Linked DNA regions of Homo sapiens: region 2 is linked to region 1. Evidence: promoter capture Hi-C in 16 types of primary human blood cells and fetal thymus (Javierre and others, 2016). All regions are on one chromosome and are shown on one strand. The core of a region is centred on a gene start or on the middle of the fragment in contact, and the rest is flanking DNA. Distances in the headings are between cores, read along the strand shown.

The links. Contacts are between HindIII fragments. The CHiCAGO score rates a contact against its expected background, and 5 or more counts as called.
Region 2: the fragment with the promoter of HINFP here is called in contact with the fragment with the promoter of SLC37A4 in region 1 in 1 of 17 cell types (total CD8 T cells); the score reaches 5.1 in total CD8 T cells.

The regions. Positions count from the first base shown.
Region 1 is chr11:119,029,627-119,036,747 of GRCh38, reverse strand. SLC37A4 (solute carrier family 37 member 4) reads left to right here and starts at 5,871. Exons shown (of 10, transcript NM_001467.6): 1 at 5,871-5,899. RefSeq lists silencers at 597-751, 6,257-6,416. The HindIII fragment of the contact is 18,338 bases long and covers 1-7,121 here.
Region 2 is chr11:119,117,065-119,123,598 of GRCh38, reverse strand. It overlaps HINFP (histone H4 transcription factor), which reads right to left and starts at 2,019. Exons shown (of 10, transcript NM_198971.3): 1 at 1,960-2,019. C2CD2L (C2CD2 like) reads right to left here. Exons shown (of 14, transcript NM_001290474.2): 14 at 5,055-6,534. RefSeq lists a silencer at 2,006-2,285. The HindIII fragment of the contact is 5,005 bases long and covers 1,187-6,191 here.

The DNA of each region.
Region 1 (7,121 bases), core at 4,622-7,121:
TATTTTGAGGCAGGGTCTCACTCTGTCACCCAGGAGGGAGTGCAGTGGCGTGATCACAGCTCATTGCAGCCTCAACCTTTTCGGCTCAAGCAATTCTCCTGCCTTGGCCTTCCAAAGTGTTTCAATTACAGGCATGAGCCACTGTGCCTGGCATTATTTATTAGTTAATCCACTCCACTCTATTGATTTGGGATGGCTTCCTTTTTTTTTTTTTTTTTTTTTACTTTTTTGGAGACAAGGTCTCACTCGGTTGCCCAGGCAGGAGTGCAGTAGCACAATCACTGCTCAGTGCAACCTTGACCACCCAGACTTAAGCAATCCTCCCACCTCAGCCTCCTGAGTAGCTGGGACTATCAGCATGAGCCACCATGCCTGGTTAATTAAAAAAAAAATTATTTATTTATTTTAAATTTTGAGACGGAGTCTTGCTCTGTCACCCAGGCTCAAGTGCAGTGGCATGATCTCAGCTCACTGCAACCCCCGCCTCCCTGGTTCAAGTGATTCTCCTGCCTCAGCCTCCCTAGTAGCTGGAATTACAGGTGTGTGCCACCATGCCCGCCTAATTTTTGTGTTTTTTTTTTTGAGACTGAGTCTCACCCTGTTGCCCAGGCTGGAGTGCAATGGTGCCATCTTGGCTCACTGCAACCTCTGCCTTTCAGGTTCAAGCGATTCTCCTCCCTCAGCCTCCTGAATAGCTGTGATTACAGGTGCACGCCTCCACGCCTGGCTAATTTTTGTATTTTTAGTAGACGGGGTTTCACCATGTTGGCCAGGCTGGTCTGGAACTCCTGACCTCGTGATCCACCCACCTCGGCCTCCCAAAGTGCTGGGATTATAAGCGTGAGCCACTGCACCCGTCCAGGAGTGTCATTTTTTTTAATTAAAAAAAATTTTTCTTTTGAAACACGGTCTTGCTTTCACCCAGGCTAGAGTACAGTAGTGCGATCATAGCTTACTGCAGCCTTGACCTTCCTGCCTCAAGCAATCCTGCCACCTCAGTCTCCCAATTAGCTGGGACCACAGGTACATGCCACCACACCTGGCTAATTTTTACTTTTATTTATTTATTTATTATTTTGAGATGGAGTCTCGCTCTGTGGCCCAGGCTGGAGTGCAGTGGCGCGATCTTGGCTCACTGCAACCTCCGCCTCCCGGGTTCATTCGATTCTCCTGCCTCAGCCTCAGGAGTATCTGGGATTAAAGGCACATGCCACCACGCCCAGCTAATTTTGGTATTTTTAGTAGAGACTGGGTTTCATCATGTTGGCCAGGCTGGTCTCGAACTCCTGACCTCAGGTGATCTGCCTGCCTCAGCCTTCCAAAGTGCTGGCATTACAGGCATGAGCCACTGCACCCGACCCTGGCTAATTTTTTATATTTTTGTAGAGATGGCGGGGGGTTCTCCCTATGTTGCCCAGGCTGGTCTTGAACTCCTGGACTCAATCAACCCTCTCACCTCAGCCTTCCAAAGTGGTTGAATTACAGCATAAGCCACTGCACCTGTGCAGGATGTCCCTTTTATCATAGTTAAAATCATACATGAGATAAAAAATTTTTTTGAAACAAGGTCTTTCTTGTAGCCTAGGCTGGAGTGCAGTGCTACAATCATAGCTCACTGAGGCCTTGAACTCCTAGGCTCAAGGTCTCTTCCCGTCTAAGCCCCTGAGTAGATAGGACTAGAGGCACATGCCACCACACCTGGCTAATTTCTAAATTTTTTGTAGCAATGGGGTCTCACTACGTTGCCCAGGCTGGTCTCAAACTCCTGACCTCAAGCCATCCTTCCAAAGTGTTGGGATTGTAAGCATGAGCCACTGGGCCCAACCTCGGATGATATTTAAAATAATGTTGTCCATTCATTTCTATGGCTTCTGAAAAAAAAATAAAAACTTTGTCCAGTTTCCAACAAATTCTGTTGGGATATAGATTGGGATGGTTTTAAAATGCCAAATGAATTTTGAATGGATTGACATTTGGACAGTATCAAAGTCATAGCTTGTTTTTCAGGCATGTAGTATGATTTACGTTTGTTCAAATTACCTTTTATTATCCCTTAGTAAAGTCTTTGTACTGTATTGGGATGTCATCTTCTCATTTCTTTTTCTTTTCTTTCTTTCTTTCTTTTTTTTTTTTTTTGAGACGGAGTCTCACTCTGTCACCTAGGCTGGAGTGCAATGGCGCCATCTCAGCTCACTGCAACTTCTGCCTCCCAGGTTCAAGTGATTCTCCTGCCTCAGCCTCCTGATTAGCTGGGATTACAGGTGTACACCACCACACCCGGCTAATTTTTGTATTTTTAGTAGAGACAGGGTTTCACCATGTTGGTCAGGCTGGTCTCGAACTCCTGACCTCATGATCCGCGCGCCTCAGCCTCGCAAAGTGCTGGGATTACGGGAGTAAGCCACCATGCCCGGCCTATCTTCTCATTTCTTAACATTCTTTGGAAATACAGTGAGCAAACTAGCATTTGAGTCCCTACTATCCTGATCATAAAGTGCTTTAAAATGTTTTTCCATTTAATTCCCACTGACTGGGTGCGATGGATCATGCTTGTAATCGCCGCACTTTGGGAGCCTGAGGCAGGTGGATAACCTAAACTCAGGAGTTTGAGACTAGCCTGGCCAACATGGCGAAACCCCCTCTGTACGCCGGGTGCGGTGGCTCACGCTTGTAATCTAGCACTTTGGGAGGCCGAGGCGGGTGGATCACGAGGTCAGGATCGAGACCATCCTGGCTAACACAGTGAAACCCCGTCTCTACTAAAAATACAAAAAATTAGCTGACCGTGGTGGCGGGTGTCTGTAGTCCCAGCTACTCGGGAGGCTGAGGCAGGAGAATGGCATGAACCTGGGAGGCGGAGCTTGCAGTGAGCCCAGATGGTGCCACTGCACTCCAGCCTGGGCGAGAGAGCGAGACTCTGTCTCAAAAAAAAAAAAAAAAAAAAGAAAGAAAAAGAAAAAAAGAAAGAAAGAAACCCTGTCTGTACTAAAAATACAAAAATTAGCCAGGCGTGTTTGCGGGCACCTATAATACCAACTACTCAGGAAGCTGAGGCAGAAGAATCGCTTGAACCCAGGTGGCCTGGTCCTGTAGTCTTAGCTACTTGGGAGGATCGCTCAATGCTCAGGAATTTGAGGTTAGAGTGAGCTAAGATACCATTGCACTCCAGCCTGGGCAACAGAGCAAGCCTGTCTCAAAAACAAACAAACAAACAAACAAACAAACAAAAAAAACAGACCGGGCGCAGTGGCTCACGCCTGTAATCCTAGCACTTTGGGAGACCGAGGTGGGCGGATTACCTGAGGTCAGGAGTTCGAGACCAGCCTGGCCAATAGGGTGAAACCCTGTCTCTACTAAAAATACAAAAATTAGCTGGGCGTGGTGGCACATGCTTGTAATCCCAGCTACTCAGGAGGCTCAGGCAGGAGAATGGCTTGAGCCCAGGAGGCAGAGGTTGCAGTGAGCCGAGATCCTGCCACTGCACTTCAGCCTGGCCGACAGAGCAAGACTCTGTCTCAAAAACAAACAAACAAACAAATAAACACCATCGACCAGGCACAGTGGCTCATGCCTGTAATTCCAGGATATTGGAAGACCAAGGCAGGTGGATCCCTTGAGCTCAGGATTTCGAGGCCAGCCTGGCCAATATGGTGAAACTCTTGTCTCTACAAAAAATAGAAAAATTAACCGGGTTGGCTGGGTGCAGTTGTTCATGCCTGTAATCCCAGCACTTTGGGAGGCCAAGGGGGGCAGATCACCTGAAGTCAGGAGTTTGAGACCAGCCTGACCAACATGGAGAAACCCTACCCCTACTAAAATTACAAAATTAGCTGGGCATGGTGGGGCATGCCTGTAATCCCAGCTACTCGGGAGGCTGAGGCAGGAGAATCGCTTGAACCCCAGAGAAGGAGGTTGCAGTGAGCTGAGATCACTCCACTTCCAAAACAAAACGATAGGGCTGTTAATTTAGGTGGTGGTTACACGGGTATTAACATGTGTAAAAAATCACTGAGTTGTACATGTAAGATTCCTGCACTTTTTGTATTTTATTATGTGTATGTTAAATCTTAAAAATAAAAGCGGAGAAAAACCTGATGGCTTCCTACTCCTCTATTAGGTAAAGTAAGAATCTGCTCTGGTTTGGTTTCGGAGGAACTGTTTCCTGGTCCTTGGATCTACCTGGCTGAAAGCACAGTGCCTGGTACAAACTAGGCTCCTCCCCGATTTTGAATTAACGAAGTTCAGTGACATCGTCATCCTATTTTTTTTTTTTTTTTTTTGAGACAGGCTCTCGCTCTGTCACCCAGGCTGGAGTGCAGTGGCACGATCTCGGCTCACTGCAACCTCTGCTTCCCAGGTCCAAGAAATTCTCCTGCCTCAGCCTCCCCAGTAACTGGGATTACAGGCGTGTGCCACCAAGCCTGGCTAATTTTGGTATTTTTAGTAGAGACAGGGTTTCACCATGTTGGCCAGGCTGGTCTCGAACTCCTGACTTCAAGTGATCTGCCCGCCTTGGCCTCCCAATGTGCTGGGATTACAAGCATGAGCCATCGCGTCCGGCCTGTCATCCTATTTTATCTCATCTCCTCCTCCTCCCTTCCCTGACCATCTTCTCTGGAGTAAAAGATCTTTGCTCTCAATTTTGGAACACTTACAATTCCTTCAGCCACTCTTGTTAGGAAGATATAAGGGAAGAGAGCGAGAGACAGGAGGCAACTCAACGGCCAAACAGGTTTATTCACAGGAATAAGCCTGCAAGGAGTTCCAGTCAGGAGTCTGGCTGAGACCCTGATCGCTTACAAGCTGAGGCTTTTATAATATCGTTTCTATTGGGGAGAGGTCGGGAAGTGCTGGCTGATTGGGACTGTTGGGGACTTTGTTAGGCTATGTTACCTTCTGTTGAAGCTATGGGCAGGGTTAACATTTGCTCTGTTTCTGAGAACACAGTCATCATTGTTGTAAAATAGCATCACTACTGTTACTCCTCACAACTCTTAACTGGGATCAGTGAAAACCATTGTTGTTGAGAACTCTTATAGAATTTCTGAGCTCTTATCTAAATCATCTGTTGAGTCTTCACAATGATCTACCAGGCTGGTAGGAAACGGGAGCTCATAGAGATTAACCAAGGTCATACAGTTAGAATGCTGTGGGTCTAGGACTAGAATTTGATATTTACTCCAGGCCCCGTCTCTGTCCCCAACAATCTAACCACAAGTTAAAATTCCAAATTGTGGGCTGGGCGCGGTGGCTCACGCCTGTAATCCCAGCACTTTGGGAGGCCGAGGTGAGCGGATCACGAGGTCAGGAGATCGAGACCATCCTGGCAAACACGGTGAAACCCCGTCTCTACTAAAAATACAAAAAATTACCCGGGCGTGGTGGTGGGCGCCCGTAGTCCCAGCTACTCGGGAGGCTGAGGCAGGAGAATGGTGTGAACCCGGGAGGAGGAGCTTGCAGTGAGCCGAAATCGCGCCACTGCACTCCAGCCTGGGCGACTGAGCGAGACTGTTTCAAAAAAAAAAAAAAAGAAAAAAAGAAAATACTGTGTGTTCCTACAACACCTTTCCCAGACTGTGAGCAACTTGGGAACAATGATTATCACCTTAGTGTTCGGTGTGTTTTGTAGAGGAGGGCACTCACTAAAAACTGGTTTGTTGAATGCAACCACTTAAGAATTGGACATGCCGTGCCCAGCCCCTAAGGGGCGCTATGCTCGTTCGTCCAAGGAGCAGCGTGACCAGCGGGAGGGAGTAAGTCGACGTCCCCGGCATGTGGGGCGGGGAACTCCACTGGCCGGCAAGCGAAGCAGCAGGCGAAGACCACGCCCCCGCCGGCCGCGCTTGCGCAGCCTTCGCTAGCCCCGCCCCGTCCTATTCGGGCTCCCGCCTCTGTTCAGGTAGGAGGCGGTATGCGGGGGAGGGGAGTCACCTGAGGGCGGGGATCTCAGGTCTTGGGGAGCCATTGTTGGCGAACCCCAACTTCCGATACGACCCGGAGCTGTTCCTGCAGTTCCAGAGACAATTCATGGGTCTTGGGGCCACCGAGGCGCTGTCCCTGACCACCAGCACGAGACCCCTTTCTATCGCGCCAGTCCTGTGGTCTCCGCACCTCTCCAGCTCCTGCACCCCCGGCCCCCGTGGTTCCCAGCCGCACAGTAGCGTGTCCTGGGTAGCGTGAGGACCCACGGGGCTGGGCAGGTGCCACGAGCCCGCCGCCTCTTCGCCGCCCGCCGCCTCTCCTCCTCTCCCGCCCGCCGCCTGGCCCTCCCCTACCAGGCTGAGCCTCTGGGTGCCAGAAGCGCGGGGCCTCCGGGAGAATACGTGCGGTCGCCCGCTCCGCGTGCGCCTACGCCTTCTGCTCCAGTTGCTTTCCCAATTGAGCGGAAAAGCCGGGGCATGTTGCCGGGGCCCTGGGCGGGACGGTTGTGCCCTGCAGCCCGAAGCCCGCCGGGGCACCTTCCCGCCCACGAGCTGCCCAGTCCCTCTGCTTGCGGCCCCTGCCAACGTCCCACAGGTTGGAAACCAGACCCTGCAGCCCCCAGCTAGCCCGAAGGAAGCCCAGACTGACGTCGCAGGGTAATGGGGACCCAGAGGTAGCTCTGTGGGGCCCCATCAGGACCTCAGCCCTTAGCGGGGCTTTCTGTGTGACACCGTGGGACCTGAACTGGGGAGGTCCCCCTTGCACAGAATTACAAGGGGCAACTGTAGGAAACAATTAAATCTATTATGTGCTAAGTATTGAGAGTTCCACGGATTGAGGCCCTCTCTAGAAGGCTTAGAAGTGGGGTAGCCGGGGTATGTGTCTGACTTTGTGTTTTGGTGCGGTGGTGGTGAGTGGGTGTAGAAACTAATAGTGCCAAGTGCAGTGCCTGTCAACTAGTAAGTTAATAAACCTTCCGTGAATGAATGAGAAGGTTCTGTGACTGAGGGAGCAGGGCTAGAGAGGGCATCTCTGCTCATCCCACCCCTGCCTCCCCTGGGCTCAGGCAGACAAAAGTAATTAGGTTGAACCTTTAATCAAAGCTGGTTTCACAGGCAAGCAGACATGATAGAGGAGGTAAAGGCAGAAATCCTGGGGACACAGGGTGCTGGCCTGGCTCACAGGCATGCCTCCTTCCG
Region 2 (6,534 bases), core at 770-3,269, 91 kb before region 1:
TGTACTCCATCCTGGGCGGCAGACCCAGACCCTGTCAAAAAAAAAAAAAAGAAGAAAGAAATATTGAATATTGACTGCTTTTATAATGTTGTGGTAAGAAAAGTAGAAAAAAGCTTCAAAAGTCATAAAATCCCACACCTCCTCTGACTATTACAGTATGAAATGCAAGGCTCTTCTCAAAGTGGTCTCAATTTTACTTCTCCAGTTCTAGGTAGGGAAACGAACATCTATTGAGAAGCTACAGTGTGTCAGCCCTGTGGTGAGTCCTCTCTACACTTCATCTGATGTAAGAGCACCCTCATTCCAATCCAAAGATCATGCTCTTTCTCCCACATGATGCTGTTCTCTGGCTTCCTCACCCATACTTCATTCCCTCTTCCTCTGATTCAATCATCTTTGTCTCTGAATACTCTACATTCTCCTAAAACTCTCTGCCTACGCAAGTTCTTTTTTTTTTTTTTTTTTTTTTTGGAGATGGAGTCTTGCTCTGTCGCCCAGGCTGGAGTGCAGTGCTGTGATCTGGGCTCACTGCAACCTCCGCCTCCCAGGTTCAAGCGATTCTCGTGACTTAGCCTCCGAAGTATTATAGCTGGGACTATAAGCACGCACCACCACGCCCAGCTAATTTTTGTAGTATTAGTAGAGACGAGGTCTTGCCATGTTGGTCAGGCTGGTCCCAAACTCCTGACCTCAAGTGATCCGCCCGCCTCGGCCTCACAAAGTGCTGGGATTACAGGTGTGAGCCACCGCGACAGGCCTACCTATGCAACTTCTATTCGCCTTTCAAACCCCAAAGTCTTCTCTTTGATGACCCCCTTCCCAATTCATCCAGGTACAGCTGGCATATCCCATCTCTTGCCCACGGCATCCACACACATCTTTGCTATCAATGCAATGAAACTTGTTTCCCCTAGACTAGGAGTTTCTCAGGACAGTGGCCATCACTTATTCACTTCTCATTCTCAGATTCAGCACAGAGCTTTGCACACCCCAGGTACTCAATAAATATCAGGAGATAATCACATTCCGGGAAGCCTTCCTAAACTACCCCATCCCTGAATCTACTCTTGCTCCTTAGTTCTATGGCTGGCACAGCTGACACCATAAAACTTCAACCCTATTTTCATGTTGCCATGGTCGTTTTATGTGTTCTAGTCTCGTTTACCCAATTGGACTATAAGAAGCTTCTGAGCAGAAACCATATCACACCTGCCCGTGTCCCTACACTGTGCCGAGCACAAATATTCTAAACATACACCTGCTGTTAGACTGGTGGGTAAGTCCAAGGAGGCAAGCTAGCTGGCGATACAGAATGATCTGAAACCTAGGCAAAACTCCCTGACGCTCTCTGACTGTCCTCCTGTCTTCTTTAATTTCTCTTTCTGTGTCTCTTGTTTCTACTCTGAGGAGATAGGGGCATGATCTTCACTCTACCCTCTTAACACTTAAGAGGGCATATACTGTAACGCAAGACAATGAATGAACTGTGGTATTCAAGAAAAAAAGGGTCCTAAACGCCTAAGAACTCATAATTTGGCCAAAAAGATAAGACTGATACGTGAAGACAACGACCGAAACAAAGTACCCGATGAGGGAGACCAGGACAGAGAGACACCTCCGCGGTCAGGCGAAAAGGAAGTCTCCCCTAAGCAGTGGGGCCCGCACCACGCCTCGAAGGACAGGTAGAATTTGGACAGAAGGAAGGAGACCGTCCCGTTGGGCAAAACCTCTCCACTCGCAGTCCCGCAGGCTTCCCGGAATCCTTCACGCTAAGGCGTGGCGGCGACCGAGTCTCAGCCGCAGCGAAGCCCCTAGACTAGAAAGCAGGGAGGTTCCAGTCGGGGTGAGGGGACCGGACCAGGGCAGACCAGCGTGGCCAAGCGGCAAGAATACTCGCCGAGGTGGCTCGGGAAGAGCTTGGCCTCCTGCAGCCCCTGCAGAGCACATACCCCAGCTTACCGTCTGTCGGCTCCAGGTCTCTTCAGCTCTTCTCCCACCTCAGACCATCTCCGGAGAGGCGCTTGAGGGACGGTCAAGGAAAGCCAATCGTCGTTCTCGGATCCGACTGACAGCCAATGGTAGCTGTGTCTGGCGGAACCCGTGCGCACCAAAACACGGAAGGGGCGGGAACAGTGGGTGGGGCTAGGCGTCCCGGGCGGACAGAGGGGCGACAGGATACGTGCAAAAGGTAGCACGTGACCGCGCCTCGCTGCTCAGGGCAACGCAAAGGCGGGGAGCCTATGGGCCTGAGTTCCCCTAACTGCGCAGGCTCGGCCTCCGGGACCCAACGGGCATGCGCAGGGCTCGCGCCTGGTGCGCAGTGGGGTCTCCCTCACGTGGTTCTTCGCTTTAGTTGGCTGGTTGCGTGGGCCTCGCGGAGAAAAAGGCGTGGGATGCTGCCCAGCGCTGTCGGCCCCGCTCGGCTCAGATTGAAGGTTCTACCCTTTCCTTCAGCCTCTTAGTCTTATTATGTTTTAAATGTTGGTATTATATGTTTCTCTTTCCCCCCAAAACTCGGCTTCCCTTCATCCACTCGTTCAGGTCAGAAAGCTGGCAGTCATCACTGATTCCTCTCACTTCTCACATCCAATCCATTGCCAAGTTCTGTGGATTCTACCTCCTTTTAAAACAGGATATTTCAAATTTATCCCCTTTTGTTTATCTTCACCGCCTCCCCCACCTCCCCTGTCCAGTGATGACCTCCAGGCAGGATTTATACATTAGTCTAATGGGTCCCGCTGCGTGCACACTTGCTTCCTTCCAAAGCATTCTCCACTTTGCAAAAAGCAGACCTGATCAAGTTACCATCTGCTTCAGACAATTCAAAGGCATTCTATTGCTTTCAGGGCAAAGCTCCAAAACCATACTGAGGTTTTCTAGACCCTTCAGCATCTGGGCTCTCCCTGTCTACTTTTTTTTAGTCCTTCTCGACCATATTTCTTGCTCTCCAGTCGCAAATTTCTTTCACCTTTTCCACCACACCAAGCCACCTTTTACCTCTCAAGCCTTGAACTTGTTTTCTTTACCTGGAATAATCCCTTTCTCCTCCTCCCACATTTATTTGACTGACTCCTACTAATTTTTATGGTCTCAGTGTAGATGCTTCTTTTTCCAAAAAGTCTTCCTGATAGTCCTTTCTTGTATTTAACAATACAGCTCAGTCACATTGTATTTGTCTGTTTACTCTCAGTCTGCATTCTTCACTAGACTAGTTCTTCACCTTTATAACTCCATCAGTGGGCCGGGTGTCGTGGCTCACGCCTGTGATCCCAGCACTTTGGGAGGCCGAGGCGAGTGGATCACATGAGGTCAGGAGCTCAAGACCAGCCTGGCCAACATGGGGAAACCCCGTCTCTACTAAAAATACAAAAACTAGCTGGGCATCGTGGCGGGCGCCTATAATCTCAGCTACTCGGGAGGCTGAGGCAGGAGAATCGCTTGAACCCAGGAGGCACAGGTTGCAGTGAGCTGAGATGGCACCACTGCACACCAGCCTGGGCAACAGAGCAAGACTCTGTCTCAAAACAAAACAAAAAACAAAATAAAACAAAAAACCCATCACTCACTTAGCCCAGTGGCTGAAACTCAGTAAGGGTTCAAGACATACTTGTTAAATAATATACCTTAATAAAGTTGGTTAAGACTGATATTTTATTGCATTGTAGTTTTCTGTATCTTCTAATCTAAAAATAAACCTATATAATTTGTACAATCAGAAAACACATTAAATGTTCAATATATATAAAATAAAATTTAAAATGCCATTAAGATAGTAAAGTCATACTTGTGCATAAATTTTGGTTTTAACAACAGTGAGTTATAACTTGGTCCCTATTTTAAAATAGGGTTTTGCAGGGCGCGGTGGCTCATGCCTGTAATCCCAGCACTTTGGGAGGCCGAGGCGGGCGGATCATGAGGTCAGGAATTCGAAACCAGCCTGGCCAACATGGCGAAACCCCATCTCTACAAAAAATACAAAAATTAGCCAGGTGTGGTGGTGGGTGCCTGTAGTGCCAGCTACTCAGGAGGCTGAGGCAGGAAAATCGCTTGAACCTGAGAGGCAGAGGTTGCAGTGAGCCAAGATCACTCCACTGCACTCCAGCCCGGGCAACAGAGAGAGACTCTGTCTCAAAAAAAAAAAAAAAGCGTTTTAAAAAATGTAATTCAAAAGTAACAAAATATATCTTACCAACTTTATTCATTCAAAAATGCATATAGTAGTACTTCATGAAATGCCATCCTCATTTTAATTCAGATTTACACCACTGAAAATAGCTTTTAGCTTTATTTAGCAATTTTATGAAGAAAAAGTTCATTCACAGAGCTGTGTAAACTCAAACATAGGTTACAGAGCAAAAATTTCAGGATTGCTCTGGGATCCATATATATGTTTCCAAAATTTAAAGCAGTGTCATTCTGTCTAGCATAGTTTACTTCTATCTCAATCTGCTTCTCTTGAAAACAAGCCACAATTTTGGCTGGGTAATTCAGACATATCCTGAGATTTGTTCTTTAAAAGCTGCCACAAAAACTGAAAGCATAATTCATACTCATTAAAAGCTGTGGATCCCTTCTGAAAGTGTGAAATGGATTAAGTTGATGAAAATATGTTTCGTATTTTTTTCATTCATTTAAAAATTCCCTATTTTTGAAACGTGATCAGGCTCTTCTTCACTAAAATATGTGATTCCATGGAACTCTGGGCAGCTCAGTACTGGAAGCTCAATACAGATTCCAGTTACCATCTACTCATTCCCCAGGTCCTGTAGAACTCTGAATACCTGTTCTCCCATCAACAAAAGTTTCTTGTGCAATCACAAGTTCACTGTGTTTGGTTGTCGTGTCATACTGGTAGAAAAACTGTTCCTCTGTGAACCACTAAGAGTTACATTTCTTAGACTGGGGAAACAGCTTGAAAAATCTCTTTGAATTTTCATGACTTAGAATTGAACATTTCACTACATAAAAATCAACCAAATCGATGTGTCCATCAATGGAGGATTGGATAAAGAAAACGTAGTTAATGTAGTGAGTGATAAAGAAAATGCAGTTTATAAACTCCAACTTGACTTTAATAAATTAAATTCCAAGCTGTCACACAGCAATGGACATCATTATCATCGCCCAACACACACACACACAGTGGAATACTACTCAGCCATAAAAAAGAATGAAATCATGTGTTTTCCAGCAACATGGGTGGAACTGGAGGCCATTATCCTCGGTGAAATAACTCAGAAACAAAGTCAAATATGGCATATTCTCATTTATAAGTGGGAGCTAAATAATGGGTATACATGGACATATAGAGTGGAATAAAAGACATCGGAGACTATGAAAGGTGAGAAGGTGGGAGGAGGGTGAGGGTTGAAAAACTACCTATTGGGTATGATGTTCACTATTTGGGCGATGCGCACACTAAAAAAAGCCCAGACTTCACCTCTATGCATGCAATATATGCATGTAAGAAACCTGCACTTGTCCCCCCAAATATATAAAACTAAATTATCTAATTGAAAAAAAAAATCTATACCCTCCATTCTTCCCGGATATCTCATATTTGGTGAGTAGTGTGGACAGGAGCATGGGGAATAGTAACAATTTCCACATGCTATCTACCCAAAGGCATGTGCCCTAAACACCCTGAGATATAGGTAGTCATAGAATGTCAAGGCTGGAAGTGACCTGAATGTTTATCCAGGTCACCCTTATTTTAGATATGAGGAAACTGAGGTCCCCAAAGGAGAAGTTGCCTGCTCAAGATCACTTGGTTTGTCTGTGGCAGACTCAGTTTTCTTGCTTCCTGGTCCTGCATTCTGCCCAATATCCTGTAGCAGCTTACCTGGTTCAAGTCCTGTATAAGATCTCAAGCACGGGAACCAGGGACACAGTTTGCTAGGATCTATCAATCCCTGAAATTTGCCCACATTTCAGAATGAGAGAGCTTTTATTATGTTGAAACACTTCTAAGACTTCCCCCTCCCAGTTTCTTCTGAGGCAACAGTTAACACTCAGCACTTCATTTACTTCTCATCCACAACCAAATGATAGCCATGATGATTGAAGTTCCCATTTTACAGATGAGAAAACTGAGGCACTTAGAGGTTACATAACTTGCCCAAGGTCACACAAGTAATTAGAAGAGCTGGGACTCAAACCCAGGCAGGCAGTCTAGTTACAGGGTCCAAGCTTTGATCTCCATTACATCCTAGAAGGAGCAGCCTGTTCCAGAAAGGGGAATGAAGACTAACCTGTACTAGTTGATTGAGTTTTTTGCTACAATTTCATACTCCAGAGCCTCCTGTCTCTTCCATCCTTTCTCTGCACACCCCTTCTTCCCTGCAGGAACTTCTTAGCAGATCCACAATGTGTGTCATCTACCCAACCTCATTATCCGGGCCCCTGTCTCATCCTCCCACACCATCCATGTCACAGCCTGGCTGCCTACTGCCTTTCAAAGGATAACCAGTTGTCCAGTTTATAAACTCCAATTTGACTTTAATAAATTAAATTCCAAGCCATCACACAGCAATG